Regions from separate parts of the Homo sapiens genome. Here region 2 is linked to region 1. Evidence: promoter capture Hi-C in human tissues and cell types (Jung and others, 2019). All regions are on one chromosome and are shown on one strand. Each heading gives the region's core, a stretch centred on a gene start or on the middle of the fragment in contact. The rest is flanking DNA. Distances are from core to core; before and after follow the strand shown. Region 1 holds the start of HLF (HLF transcription factor, PAR bZIP family member). Region 2 has its middle 66 kb from the start of MMD.

Evidence for each region. Contacts are between HindIII fragments. The study calls those that stand out against the background at their distance.
Region 2: a fragment that was not itself captured here is called in contact with the fragment with the promoter of HLF in region 1 in 2 of the 25 tissues and cell types used here (dorsolateral prefrontal cortex and hippocampus).

The regions. Positions count from the first base shown.
Region 1 is chr17:55,262,172-55,269,309 of GRCh38, forward strand. It overlaps HLF (HLF transcription factor, PAR bZIP family member), which reads left to right and starts at 2,789. Exons shown (of 4, transcript NM_002126.5): 1 at 2,789-3,428; 2 at 5,580-5,915. The coding sequence starts at 3,314. RefSeq lists a silencer at 2,593-2,912. The HindIII fragment of the contact is 14,198 bases long and covers 1,601-7,138 here.
Region 2 is chr17:55,351,902-55,359,039 of GRCh38, forward strand. No RefSeq gene overlaps it. Among named protein-coding and RNA genes, the nearest start is that of MMD, 66 kb to the right of the region's middle. The HindIII fragment of the contact is 3,744 bases long and covers 1,856-5,599 here.

The DNA of each region.
Region 1 (7,138 bases), core at 1,539-4,038:
AAATAATAAAATGATTGTTGTTTTAAGCCACTAGGTTTTGGAGTGATCTGTTACACAGCAATCAATAATCAGCATCATTGCTTTCCTCATGGAATTGTCAGAAGTATGTGATATGACACATATGGAAGGGCTCTGTAAGTGGACAAGTGCTAAGCACTTGTGAGCGGCAGTTATCTCTGGGCATATGTGCAGATTGGGGTTAGTGCTCATTAGGGATATGTCCATTTGAGAATTAACCTGTGGAATTCAGAGGGTCTTACTACCCAACCAATATAACCTTTGGTTTCTTCTATCCCTCTCCTTCCTCTTGAGCAGCCATCCACAACTGCTTCTGGGGAAGAGAGAGAGAGAAAGAGAAAGAAAGATGTTCATGGTTTGTTAAAAAAATAAAAGAAAATAACATTTACAAATGGCCAGAGTAGAAAAGATGTACCAATTTCATTTATCTTGTTAAGGAATGGGGCTAGATTGAAGATTAGCCAATGCTTATAATTTTTGAGGCTCTAAGAAATACCTTTGAAGTTAGAGAAGGATGGAGAGAAGTGAGAGGGAGTCACCATGGTCTAAGGGGCTGGTCCTCAATCTGGTCCGTGACATGTTGATCAGGCTCAGGGAAATTAAATTAAATGAACCAAATTCCCAAGAAACTGCTTGATCAACCAGAACGCCAGTTTATCCACTTGCAATGAGAAATGCAATTTCCAAGCCACAGTATTTGGTTCTGTCAGGTGGTAAGGAGAAGATTACCCTGGGAAACCAGATTACTTGACCTGGTAAGAGTTTCATGTCTGGAAACATGGGGAAGTGAGGACATGCGGAGAATCATGAGCAGGTGGAGCACTTTGGGCGTGCTGAGTAATGTCAGTGGACTGTTACACAAAGCTTAGGTAACGCATCTTTCATGCACCTGGAATCTGCAATCTAACAGATTTCTAACCAGGCTGAGAGGATGCTCTCAGTCCTGCCAGTTTATGGACTTACAGGGATGTAAGGAACTCAAGACAGGGAAATAGCCTCTGTCTCCAAAAGGATAGCGGAGATGAGGTCCCTTTTTTATTTTTTAAAAAAACAATATAATATAATTGATGGATTCAGACCGTTCACGAGAGACTATTACCTCCACGCCCAGCTCAGGCACCTTCTCTAGAATCCCTTTCCTAATAATGTAAGTGCCCCTGTCACCTCCATCTATCCATTTTTGTTCTTTTAAGCCTATTTTATATTATTTGCTTATATGCCAAACCCTAAACGATGAGTTCTTGAAGGTTAAAATTATGTTTTATTCATCTTTTTTCACTAGCCCCCGCATAGTCGCTGGCATACATACCGTGGTGCTCAATAAATGCATGTGGCATTAACTAAAAGTTTGCTGTTTCTGGAATTCGTCTGAAACCTGAAACACTGCAACAACATCTCACTTAGAATGTTGCCTTACCCTTTTGCCATAATTTTAGAGTGAGGAAGTAGAGGTCACTAGATTACGTGTCCTTTTATGAAGAACCTACAGCTCAGGGCAGAAAGGCACTTGCCGGAATCACCCTGCCAGGGAACTCTGAACCCCGCTGCGCCGCCGCTCCTGATCTCTGGGGTTTCAGGCGCCTCCTCTCTTACAACCCTCTCCTGGGGAAGTAAACCCCATCAAGACACCACCACATCCTTCCCCAGCGACTCAGCCTGGGGTCACAAAGGCCTTTACGTCCCACTGAAAAACGGTTTTCTTTCATTTGTGCCCATTCGTTCTTGCAGCCCCTTCCCCAGATCGAAGACTAGGGTCTTAGTAAGGAGAGGTAAGGAGGGAGGGGAAGAACCTGCCTGGCCCCCCGCGGAGCTCTGCAGGGGGCGTCGCGGCTGCACGCCAGCGCCCGCACCACCCCAGGCGGGAAGGGAGTTATCACACAGGGGGTCGCACGCAGATCTCGGGGACCGTGGGTGCCACGAGGTCAAACTGGCAGAGGGAGACGCTGCAGCTGCTGTAACAGCAAGGAAAGCCGAAGCCCCCTTAGGGGATACTTTACAAAATTATTTTAATCACCGTGCAAACCTAATAACTTGACCCAAGCGCAATCACCTGTATTCACCCAGAGTAAATATTCCTAAAATCCCGTTCAGTGTGTCTGTGTCTCTCCCGCCTCTTTCCGTTTCAGGCAAATGTCTACCCCCCCTCTCCCCCCACCGTTAACACCTCTCTGCAGCGTGGGAAACAGTGCCCAGCAGCTCAGTCCTCCGCTTCCCGCTCTGCTTTTTGCATCCCATTCGGACTTATAGGAAGTAGTTATTTTTTGGTGGTGGTGGAAACTGGGCAAGAAAGAAGACGCTAAGCTTGGCCGGGGCCAGGAGAAATATTGAGAAGGGTCGTTACCTTCCATCCGATCTAAACCAATCATCTCAAACTTGGCTACTCTTTGGAACCACCTGGGGAGCTTTAAAAATTATGGACGCCCTGATAGCACCGCAGAGGTTCTGATCTAATTGATCTGGGATGCGGCCTGGGTATCGCGATTTTTTTAAAACTCCTCAGGTTATTCCCAGCTTGAAAACTATGGATATAAATTTCTCATTCCTCTTCCCACCCAGACCAAAAAAAAAAAAAAAAATCTAAGCCTAAGTTGATGGCCCAGGGAATCTGGCACCTGCTCCCCTGCAACCAGCCAGTGCTGCAAGGTCCCCGAAAATCGGCGCGAGCGGCGACGCTAAACACGCGGCGGCGGGGCGAGCGGGCCAGGCGGGCGGTGCCGCGCGTGGCCCCGCCCCCGCACGCCTATGGGCGCGAGGTGCGGGCCCTGACGTCACTCTTGTCAGGGCCGCGGCACATGGGCGGCCGGATGCGCTGAGCCCGGCGCTGCGGGGCCGCGGAGCGCTGGGGAGCAGCGGCCGCCGGCGCGGGGAGGGGGGTGGGGTGGGACGGCGCACCGCCTCCGGTGCTGGCACTAGGGGCTGGGGTCGGCGCGGTGTCTTCTGCCCTTCTGCAGCCGTCGACATTTTTTTTTCTTTCTTTTTTTCAATTTTGAACATTTTGCAAAACGAGGGGTTCGAGGCAGGTGAGAGCATCCTGCACGTCGCCGGGGAGCCCGCGGGCACTTGGCGCGCTCTCCTGGGACCGTCTGCACTGGAAACCCGAAAGTTTTTTTTTAATATATATTTTTATGCAGATGTATTTATAAAGATATAAGTAATTTTTTTCTTCCCTTTTCTCCACCGCCTTGAGAGCGAGTACTTTTGGCAAAGGACGGAGGAAAAGCTCAGCAACATTTTAGGGGGCGGTTGTTTCTTTCTTATTTCTTTTTTTAAGGGGAAAAAATTTGAGTGCATCGCGATGGAGAAAATGTCCCGACCGCTCCCCCTGAATCCCACCTTTATCCCGCCTCCCTACGGCGTGCTCAGGTCCCTGCTGGAGAACCCGCTGAAGCTCCCCCTTCACCACGAAGACGGTGAGCGCTGCCGCGGCCCCGCTCCGGGAAGGGACGACGCTCCGGGGGTCCCCCTCCGCGGCCGGGCACGCCCGCTGGAGCATCCCCCAACCCCGCTCCCGCCCTGTCCCGCGGCGCCCCGGCCCCGCGCTGATGAAATTGAGGAGCTCACCCAGCACCCTTCCTCCCCTTCCTCCTCCTCCATGAAAGGGGAGGGACCCCTCCTGAGCTACATTTAAAAGAGCTTCGGGCACCCGGCCTCCCTGGGTCCCGCTCCTGCGGCGCGGGTGGGAGGTGTAACTTGACAGGTCAGGATCGTTCCCTAGAACGAGGCACACCCGCACGCAGAGCGAGCCCGCCTGCGGAGGGCAGAGCCTCCCGGGCTGGGGAGGAGAAACCCTGGGGCCTGGTTCTGTGCGGGGCAGGGGGCGGGGGTCGGCTTGAGGGAGGGGGTTTCACTGCGTAGCCTGGGTTTTGGGGTTGTGTTACAGCTTCTGTTACTGGTTAGTATTTGGAACTCACGAGGTGTGAGAGAAGACTCGTTTTCTTCTGGTGAAGGGTAGCTGAGAAAGCGGGGTGGGGGCTGGGGCCGGTGGGGGGAGTGGTCTCTCGGCGGGAAGCCGTGCACGCCTCCAGCGTTGACACTTTCCCGGTGCACTTTTTCTGGTGGGAGGGGAGAGCGGAGCAGGCTCACGTGTAACCGCGCAGGAGCCTCCTCTGGCTTGAGCCCTTTCTTGGTAAGTCCCAAACCTTCCCAAGACAACCTTGGCCTTAGCAGTAGAGGAGGGGTACGTGTGATGAGGCCCCAAACCCGGCTAAGTGATGCCACGGATTTGGGTTGATGCGATTTCATGCCTTCGGTATCACAGTAGCAAATGCGAACCGTGCGGCTCACAGTGTAAAGTTCTGAAAGGTTATTTGGCTACAAATAGCTTGGGAGTACTTGCACCTTCTTTTCTAGGAGAGGACAACCTGTTGCATTGCAAGAGTTTGCAATCTGCAGATGATAGCCAGGGACCCCTCCCTAACTATCCTTTAAGGAAGAGCATTTGGGAGGAAGGGGCTGCCTGCAGGCTTTTGCATCTGTGGGTGTTTTAAGTCAGATTTTCAGATGAGATGGTAGAGGGTTAGAATGGATGGCAGTGGAGGCTGTGTTTCTCTGAAGATGAAACTCAGAAGCAAATTCCTTAATCCCAGATTCCACCCACGACTGAATACTAGAATTGGCAAGATCCGGAATGCTTGTTAAAGACCTAATGGGCGAGCAGTACTTCCAGGTAGCAAATAGCTGCATACTTCCAACATAAATGTATAGAATAACTCACCTTTTCCAATAGCTCTGCTTTTGAAAGGTTTTGTAAATGCATACTCTTTGTAAATTGGATCATACTCAAATGTTTGGAGAAGAGAAGGAAGAAAACACTTTGTATTTTTTTAAACTCCTTTTGTAAAAATCAGTGTGCCCCAGTGGCTTTAGAAGCAAACACATGTGAGCTCAGAAAGTTCTCATTCTCTGCCAACATGAGGCATTGGTCAAGTTCCCTCAAGTCTCAGAGCCTCCGAGTCTTTGTTGTAAATGGAGGTAATTGTTATTTTGCAAGTTTATTGTGAGATTTTTGAGATAATATATGGAAAGAACCAGGTATCCAGTAGGTACTCTAAACATGATGTTAAAGAAGGGTGGAAGGTCCCTGCTTTACCAAAATTAAGACCACTAACTCACTGGCTTTGTAAGTCTGAATGACCTCCTATTGCTGCTGTGATGAATTCCTGGAAGATAATTCAAGCCTGGTTATTGGCTGTTGTTTTCTTAAAAATGACAGCAGTTGTATATAATCACAGATGTTATATTCCTATTTTAGGTTTAAGTTATTACTCTTCTCAAATAATGTGCTGAGACTGTTCTCTGGTTTTTATCCTAGATCAGCCTGTAGCCCTGCCCCAAGGACTAGTGCCTTCTTTCCAAAGTAAATAGGAAGATGTTGAAAAACAGGCAGAGATCCACGTCCTGCCTGAACTTTTAACTCTAGATCTACAAAAGACAGCAGCCAGAGAAGGACCCTGCCATTCGTGAGAAATAGTCTTATAACAGGCCAGGAAAAGTGATAAAAGAGCGGTATTGTTTTTCTTTTCTTTCTTTTTTTTTAAGTCCAGCTTTCCCTTCTTCTGCAGCATTTAGTAAAGATAAAGACAAGGAAAAGAAGCTGGATGATGAGAGTAACAGCCCGACGGTCCCCCAGTCGGCATTCCTGGGGCCTACCTTATGGGACAAAACCCTTCCCTATGACGGAGATACTTTCCAGTTGGAATACATGGACCTGGAGGAGTTTTTGTCAGAAAATGGCATTCCCCCCAGCCCATCTCAGCATGACCACAGCCCTCACCCTCCTGGGCTGCAGCCAGCTTCCTCGGCTGCCCCCTCGGTCATGGACCTCAGCAGCCGGGCCTCTGCACCCCTTCACCCTGGCATCCCATCTCCGAACTGTATGCAGAGCCCCATCAGACCAGGTAAGTGCCCTGAAGATTCTCCCTTCAGAAAGGGAGGAGGAGGGTGAATGGGACAGGCAAGGTAGAGTTAGCATAAACATCTTAACACTCAGGTTTTAGCAAAGATCCTAAGAGAGGTACCTTCTTCTGCTCCACTCCTGGCAGAGGCTCTCCCACTTTAATGAGCATCCATATCACTCATCTGGAGAGTCCGGTAAATACAGACTCTTTGTATCTACCCCTAGAAATTCTGATTTTGCAAGTCTGGAATGAGGGCCCAGGAATATGCATTTTAACCAGCTCCCCCATGGGATTCTAATGCAGCTGATCCAAGGGCTGCAGTTTAAGAAATAACTTACAGTTAATGATTTGGATAATTTAAGCCTCCATCGCATCTTGTATCTCTTTTCCTCATTCCCTAAACACGTAGATAACAGGTAGACTCTCAATAGGGTTTGGTTTACCTATATTCACTCTTGTCTGTCCTGAAGGAAAAAAAATGTGAGTAGGGATATGGGGCAGGTATTTTTTTTTCCATCCTTTTCATCTTGTTTTGTCATTAGCTGAGAAGTAGAATCTAAAAGCAGGCTCTCATATTGTGTTTCTGAGCCTTCTTCAGGACCAGACTCCATCTCTCTCGTTGCTATTCCCATAAACCCAACTGTTCTTATCTTTTTTTTTTTTTCATTTTCATCTGTCTATCACACTCAGTCCACCTGTATCAAAGCCCACAAGGCTGCAAGGTCAGCTGTAAATGATCTTGAAATAGTACACAAAAATATCACCTGAAATGACCAGTACTTCAAAACCCACTGCTAATGCTCAGATATAAACACAGATTGAAGGAGCTTTGAATTCATGCCTTTAGCACCCTGTAGTACCAAATGAACAGGAAGAAAGACGATTTCATGTGCACAGGTAACCAGGAACAAAGATTCAGCCAGATAAATCATCCGGAAGGTCACAGAGCTGAGGGCCTTAGCTGTGGGGGAAGACAGAAAGCAGGACAATGCGAAACTTGTGCTAGAGATTGTTACTGAACTCCGTGTCCTCGACTCTTGTAGAAATTTCTGTGGCACATGGAGCAAGATTTAAATGGAAGGAAATGATGTAAAGGAGGAAGAGAATACCCCTGCCTCGATATATTCATATTGAAGTTCCTCCTTTCAGACCTCTGTGTGCTGGCCCCTTCTCCAAAATTCACTTTGAATTATAACTCAAGGCCACTGGCTGGAATGGAATTA
Region 2 (7,138 bases), core at 2,478-4,977, 91 kb after region 1:
GGCTAGTGCCTGTAATCCCAGCACTTTGGGAGGCCAAGGCAGGAGGATCACTTGAGCTCAGCAGTTTGAGACCAGCCTGGGCAACATAGCAAGACCGTGTCTCTAAAAAAACAAAAACAAAAATTAGCCAGGCGTGATGGTGCACACCTGTGGTCCCAGCTACTGGTTGAGGCTGAGATGGAAGGGTCATTTGAGCCTAGGAGGTCAACACTGCAATGAGTTATGATCTCACCACTGCACACCAGCCTGGGTAACAGAGTGAGATCCTGTCTCAAATAAATAAATAAATATAAATAAAATCAAAGTATTATTTTAAATGAGAACATGCTTCACCAAATGTAGAATATTAATAAAGCTATAGAATTTATAAGAAGGTAATAAAATAGAGGCTCTAGAGTTGAAAAGTACAATAGCTGAAATGAGAAATTCAATGGCAGACTTGAGTGAGCGGAAAGAACGAATCAATGAATTTGAAGATGGGCTGCTTGCAATTATCCAGTCTGAGAACAGAAAGTAAAAGAATTGAGAAAAACAAAGCTTCAGAGACCTGTGAGACACCATCAAGCTCACCAACATACACATAATGATAGTTCCAGAAGAAACAAGAGAAAAAGGGGGAAGAAAGAATATCTGAGGAAATAATGGCCAAAAACTTCCCAGATTTGATGAAAAACATTTATCTGCACATCTAGGAAGCTCAATAAACTCTAAGTAGGATAAATGTAAGAGAGCTACACCTAGACACATTAAAATCAAACTGTCAAATGCCAAAGACGGAGAATCTTGAAAGCAGCAAAAGAGAAGCAACTCATTATGTACAAGTGATCTTCAATAATATTAACAACTGATTTCTCATCAGGAACCATGGAGGCCTTATTCAGAGTACAGAAAGAAAAAGAGGCCTCAAGAGGATTGTTTGAGGCCAGGAGCTCAAGACTAGCCTGGAAAACATAGTGAGGCCCTATGTCTATTCTTCTTTTTTTAATTAGCCAGGGGTGGTGATGCATGCCCATAGTCCTAAGCTACTTGGGAAACTGGGGCAGGAGAATCACTTCAGCCCAGGAAGTGATTCAAGTTTACAAGGAGCTATGATCATGATGCTGCACTCCAGCCTTGGCAATGACGTGAAATCCTGTCTCTTAAAAAAAAAAAAAAAAAATGAATTCTGTATTCACCAAAAACACTATCCTTCAAAAATAAACGAGAAAACCACACATTGACAGGTTTTTCAAAAAAAAAAAAAAAAAAAGAATGTATTACCAGCAGACCTGCCCTGTAAGAAATACTACCAAGAGTCCTTCAGGCTGACAGGAAAGAAGACTTGCTCAAATACTCATGAAGAAAAAATAAGGAACATGAGTAAAAGTAACTACATAGATAAATATAAAATGTAGTATGAATGTACTTTTGTTTGTAATTCTTTTCTTTTTCTATGTGATTTATAAGACATCTCTATAAAACAATGACTATAAAACTGTGTTGATGGATTTATAATGTATAATTATAACAGTAATAGCACAAAGGAGGGGGGAGAAAATGGAGATCTGTAGACACAGTTTTTTGTATACTATTGAAATTAAATTGGGATTAATCCAAATTAGATTGTTAAAAATTAAAGTGTTGAATGTAATCTCCAGAGCAGCCACTAAGAAAATAACTAAAAATATATATAGTATAAGACATGACATGGGAAATATAAATGGTACACTAGAAAATATCTGTGTAACACAAAACAAGGCAACAATTGAAGAACAGAAAAATAAAAAAGATAGGCTGTATAGAAAACAAATAGCAAAATGGCCTAAGTAAATTCTACCTTATCAGTAATTATATTAAATATAAGTAGATTAAACACTCCAATCAAAAGGCAGAGATTGGCAGAATGAATTTAAAAAAACTAAAAATCACAGGATCCAACTACATGCTGTCTGCAAGAGGCAAACTGCAGATTCAAAGACATAAACAAATTGAAAGTAAAAAGATAGAAAAAGATATATCATGCACACCCAAAGTGCTCAGGTTACAGATGTGAGCCACCATACCCGGTTGGAAAGAAAAACTTTAGCTGGTCTGATAGGGGTCAAAAATATTTTTGAAAGGGCTTCTATAAAAAGAAGTGCAATTTTATCTAGCTCTCAAAGATGGAGATAGGTAGTACCCGTGGGTACAAGTGACAGGGAGACACATTTTGGCTTAATATGTGATTGCCTATAAATGAAAGAGGTGCCTGCTCTTGGGATTGTGCAAAAGGTTCTCTATCAGAGATACCCTAGATAGAAACTGGATGAGGAGGGTAGATTACAGGATACAAAGTCAACACTTTTCTGCAAGTCACTGAGCAGAAATGGTATTTAACTACACAGCTATCTTTCCTCTCCTGCAGTTCTTTTTTTTCTGAATGAGGGAAGAATGACCTTGATAATGGTTATTTTTATTTCTTTTTTTCTTCATTATTTTTAGCTAGTAATTTTACCATTTAGGGTCCAATTATAGACCTTAGAAACCACTGCAGACGGTTTTAAAAACTAAGAAATTATTCCCAGGTATTAAATGAATTACTAATGGTTGGGAAGGTCCAAGGATCAGGTTCCTAGTTAAGTTTCTAAGAACAGCTCCCAGCCCCTAAGATCACTCTGCTTAGGAGAGCTGCTGATGTTACTGCCAGAAACCAAATCAGGAAGCTGCTAACTATAGAGCCACATCACTGCCATAACTTCTTGAAAGAAGACTTAGTGCAGGAGATTCTTAGCTGGACCTTGGTGAATTGGTAAGATTTGTGTGACATTAGACAGTCAAACTGTCTGAACCTTAGTTTGCTTATCTGGAATATTGGGATAATTTTACCTGCCATAACTACTTTATGAAGTTTCTATGCAGATTCAATGAGATAAAGTATGAAAGTGCTTTGAAATCAGTTAATCTCTCTCTGTATTTTTTTCTATTATTCAGTACCTGATAGACAGTAATCACCCAATAAATATTTGCTGAATTTAATGGAATAAAGTGTAATCCTCAAACTAAGATATTGACCTGAGAATGTACAATAATGCTGTGTACAAAAGGCTTCCTAACTGCATTCAAGTTGGTAGATGTCTATTGACTAGAAATGTGAAATAGGATAGGATTGTTAGAGGGGCCTCAAATATGGATGGTCTGGAAAACAGGCAAAGAAGCTTAGAATCCATAAATACCAAGCATAAGAGCTTTGGAGTCAGACAGATGTCAGTTTAAGCCCTGGCTCTGCCACTTCCTAGTTAGCTATTTAATCCCAGGCAAGTAATGTGTGTGTGTGTGTGTGTGTGTGTGTGCACACGCGTGCAGGTGTGTATAAACATACATATATGTATTTCAAACTGATATATATAATCAGTTGCTAGATGCTCTTCATTCTTTCTTTTTCTCATTTTCACAAAAGCTAAAAAATCCTAACAACACAGTGGCTTCCCAGGTCCATGAGAAGACTGGGTTATTTCCAGGAGGGGAGAGGCAAATATGAATTATAACTAAAGACAAGAAACACGATTAATGCCACAAATTGGGCTCAGACCCTGATCCTAGACTAGCATGAAGCAATGGACAGAATGAGAAGAAAAACAGGAGAAATACTGCAAAGAAGGATGCAAAGTGAAAAGGATGCAGCTGTGACTGAGCCGAGCGTGCCCTGAGGCAGCTGGGGTGAAGGCGTTGGATCATCCTTCTGCCTCATTTTCTCCATCCTCACAACCATCCTTTATCCTGGGTCTTCATCCATTCACCTTACTGTTTGAACCATTAGAGTGGGTTTCAAACTGTATTACACAGAGATGCACCCAAGATTCTTCCAACATTCTATTCCGTTTTCAAAAACTACCATTTTCTGGACTGTTAGAAGGTGAGAAAGCAGCTTAGTAGATGGAGACCCAGGCTTGCTACTCTTGTTTCAGCCAGAACAACAGCTTCATTTTTATTTCTGTTAACTATTGTGATTTCTCTTAAAATTTAATTATATTAGGAATTTCTGCTTTAATAGTGTTTGACTTCACATCAATCTGTTTCAACATTGCCATGGGCATCCCTGGCCTTTGACGCTCTTCTTTCCTGCACTCCACTCTAAATAAATCGAGCTAAATTCATTCTGGCTGGCCGCAGTGGCTCATACCTGTAATCCTAGCACTTTGGGAGGCCGAGGCAGGTGGATCACTTGAGGTCAGGAGTTCGAGACCAGCTTAGTCAACGTGGCAAAACCCCGTCTCTACTAAAAATGTAAAAATTAGCCAGGTGTGGTGGTGTGTTCCTGTAATGCCAGCTATTCAGGTGGCTGAGGCAGAAGAATTTATCGAACCTGGGAGACAGGTTGCTGTGAGCTGAGATCGCAGGACTGCACTCCAGCCTGGGTGACAGAGTGAGACCTTGTCTCAAAAAAAAATAAAATAAAATAAAAATCAATCAATCAATCATGCTAAATTCATTCTTCATTAAGTTGTCCTCTCCCTGCTCCAGATTGTCTGTTGACTTTTTATCATCCTCTGGACATGGGCTAAATCCTCAGCCAAGCCTCTGGGGAACTCTTCAATAAAAACAAAAGGAATGGCATAATGATGCCTTAAGCTATTGAGAATCCTTAGCACATGGCAGACACTCAATAAGTAAATGCCAACTTACTACAGTTGATTGCTCCTTAAGGGAGCCTTTGAATCCCCTCAACTCATGGAACAGTGCCTTGTACACAGGAAAGTACCTTGCAAATCAAGAGACACTCCCCCTTTCACAGCATAGTTCCTTTTGCTTAGCTAAGCTTCCAAGTTGGGGAAATGGCTTGGTGATGTTTAGGAAGGATCCTGAATTTCCATCTTCTGTAGGAAATGGTATGGCAATGTTTATAACATGCCTTCAACCTCTTTCTTTTGTTTTCTGGGAAAATACCTACCTCTGGCTGGCTTACAAATGTAAACGTGAGCCTACAAATGTAACTGCTAGAGCGACCTAACTGAATCCCTCTAGTCCTTCATCATTATACATGGTTCTTGGTGCCCCCTTGTGGCAATCTGTCATCATGCAGGGTTACCAAGATGAACATGACAGCCATCCTTTAGGGGATGCCTAACTCTGAGACAAATACCATGCTAGGCATTTTCAATGGATTAGCTCATTTACTCTCACCACAATCCCCTGAGGTAGCTACTATTAGTTTAATAACATGTGCTAAGTAACACAGCTAACAAGTGGCAGACTAGAGACTTGAATTCAGGCTGGTTACACTGGAGCTTGTGCTTTTCACTTCTATATTAGGTGCAAAGAGATATTATGGTGAATATATAAAGAGGAATTAAGAGGTGGGACTTCTGGGAGAATGGAATAACAAGTTTGGTGGACTCTTTCCCCAGCAAAACAACAATCGAATTAGAGAAAATTATTTAAAATATCCATCATTTAAAGTGTCTGGAAAGTGTTGTAAGGGCCATACAGCAAATAAGAAACATTAATTCAAGAAAATCTTTAAAATTTCAATCATAATAGCAAGAGTCTGTGGCATTTGAGCTGCGATTTGCCCATTAATCTTCTTCCTTATTATGGAAACTCTACCCAGTATATGAGCAGCCAAGACAGGGCTCCATCTCTCTCTACATCCTAGTTTGAGGCTATGGTTTCACCCTAAAAAAGACAGGATGCTAGTATTTCTCACTCCACTAAGCCCCAGTCTGCAGAAGTTCTGTTCCACATGAGTATGCCAAGAAGTGTCATCCAACCCCCAGTTATAAGGTGGAAGCTCTGCTGTAGGCACAGCAAGTCAAGAATACTGGAGGACTGATTTCCTACACCTCAGTTCACTTGCAAGTGAGAGGTTACATGCTGGGAGAGGTAAGATGAGAAGATAAGGGGTCTCCACACTCCCCAACCCCAGTACCTAGTCATGGAGCAGGGATGTCACTCTGGGGAAAGAGGATCTCTGTTCCAGCTTCAGTGCAGTGGCACAGGTGCTCTACCTAGTGGGAAAGGCAGGCCACAAAGAGCAAAACACCATAGCTCTGCCTGAGGAGACTGACTTTATTTGGAACAAAGGGTGAACTCCATACGTAAGAGCATTCTTAAAAATAATGGTAATCTTGTTGGGAGAGCAATGAAGAGGCAGCTGGTATGTGCGTATACAAACAAAATAGCAGAGTATTCAGAAGTTTAATAGGGAGACCACGGAAAGAGACAGCCAAGAAGAGCCCTTCTATGCATACAGTCAAGTCCAATCAGAAAGGCTGTGCTAGGCTGCACTCACTTGGGAAAAATCAGAGCAGGATGTGGGGCAGATTTCATAGCATTTCTCAAGTCACCCACAGGCCCATCAACATAGGGTGGAAATTTTATTGGTAAAAAGGGCATAAGCACAACTTCTGATTAACAACTGACTGAACAATATGTTATTCTGGCGCAGGAGTGACTCCAAGACAGCCAAGCTTAAAAATAAAATCATAGTCATCCCTGAAAGTCTGGAAGACTATGTGCATACCCAAGGCTGCATCCTCCAAGAAGCAATCAGAGAGAGAACCACCAGGCTGCTAGTTCCTAGGTGAACACGGGAGAAAAGTAGTAAGCTCCCTGAACTGTGATAAGAGCCTCCACATCACACATATCATTTCCGACAGTAAAGGGTAAAAAAACCTAACAGACTAAGGACACTGAGGCATAACCTTTGACTAGTAAATGGCTTATGCTGACCTAGAGAAAACCCCTATCTAGCCAGGCTAAAAGATAAAAATAAGGGGGCCAGGTTTGGTGGCTCATGCCTGTAATCCCAGCACTTTGGGAGGCGAAGTGGCAGGGCGGGGGCGGCAGATCCCCTGAAGTCAGGAGTTCGAGACCAGCCTGGCCAACATGGTGAAACACCATCTCTACAAAAGCACAAAAATTAGCTGGGCATGATGGCGAGTGGCTGTAATCCCAGCTACTCGGGAGGCTGAGCTGGAAGAATCACTTGAACATGGGAAGCAGAAGTTGCAATGAGCCAAGATCGTGCCATTGCACTCCAGCCTGGGCGAGAAAGAGTGAGACTCTGTCAGGAAAAAAAAAAAAAAAAAGATAAGAATAAGGGAAAAAAATCTAAGCAGGGACATTAGAAGCTGCACACTGCAATAGACTTTGAAGAACTACTTAAGCTTAGCTATTAAAC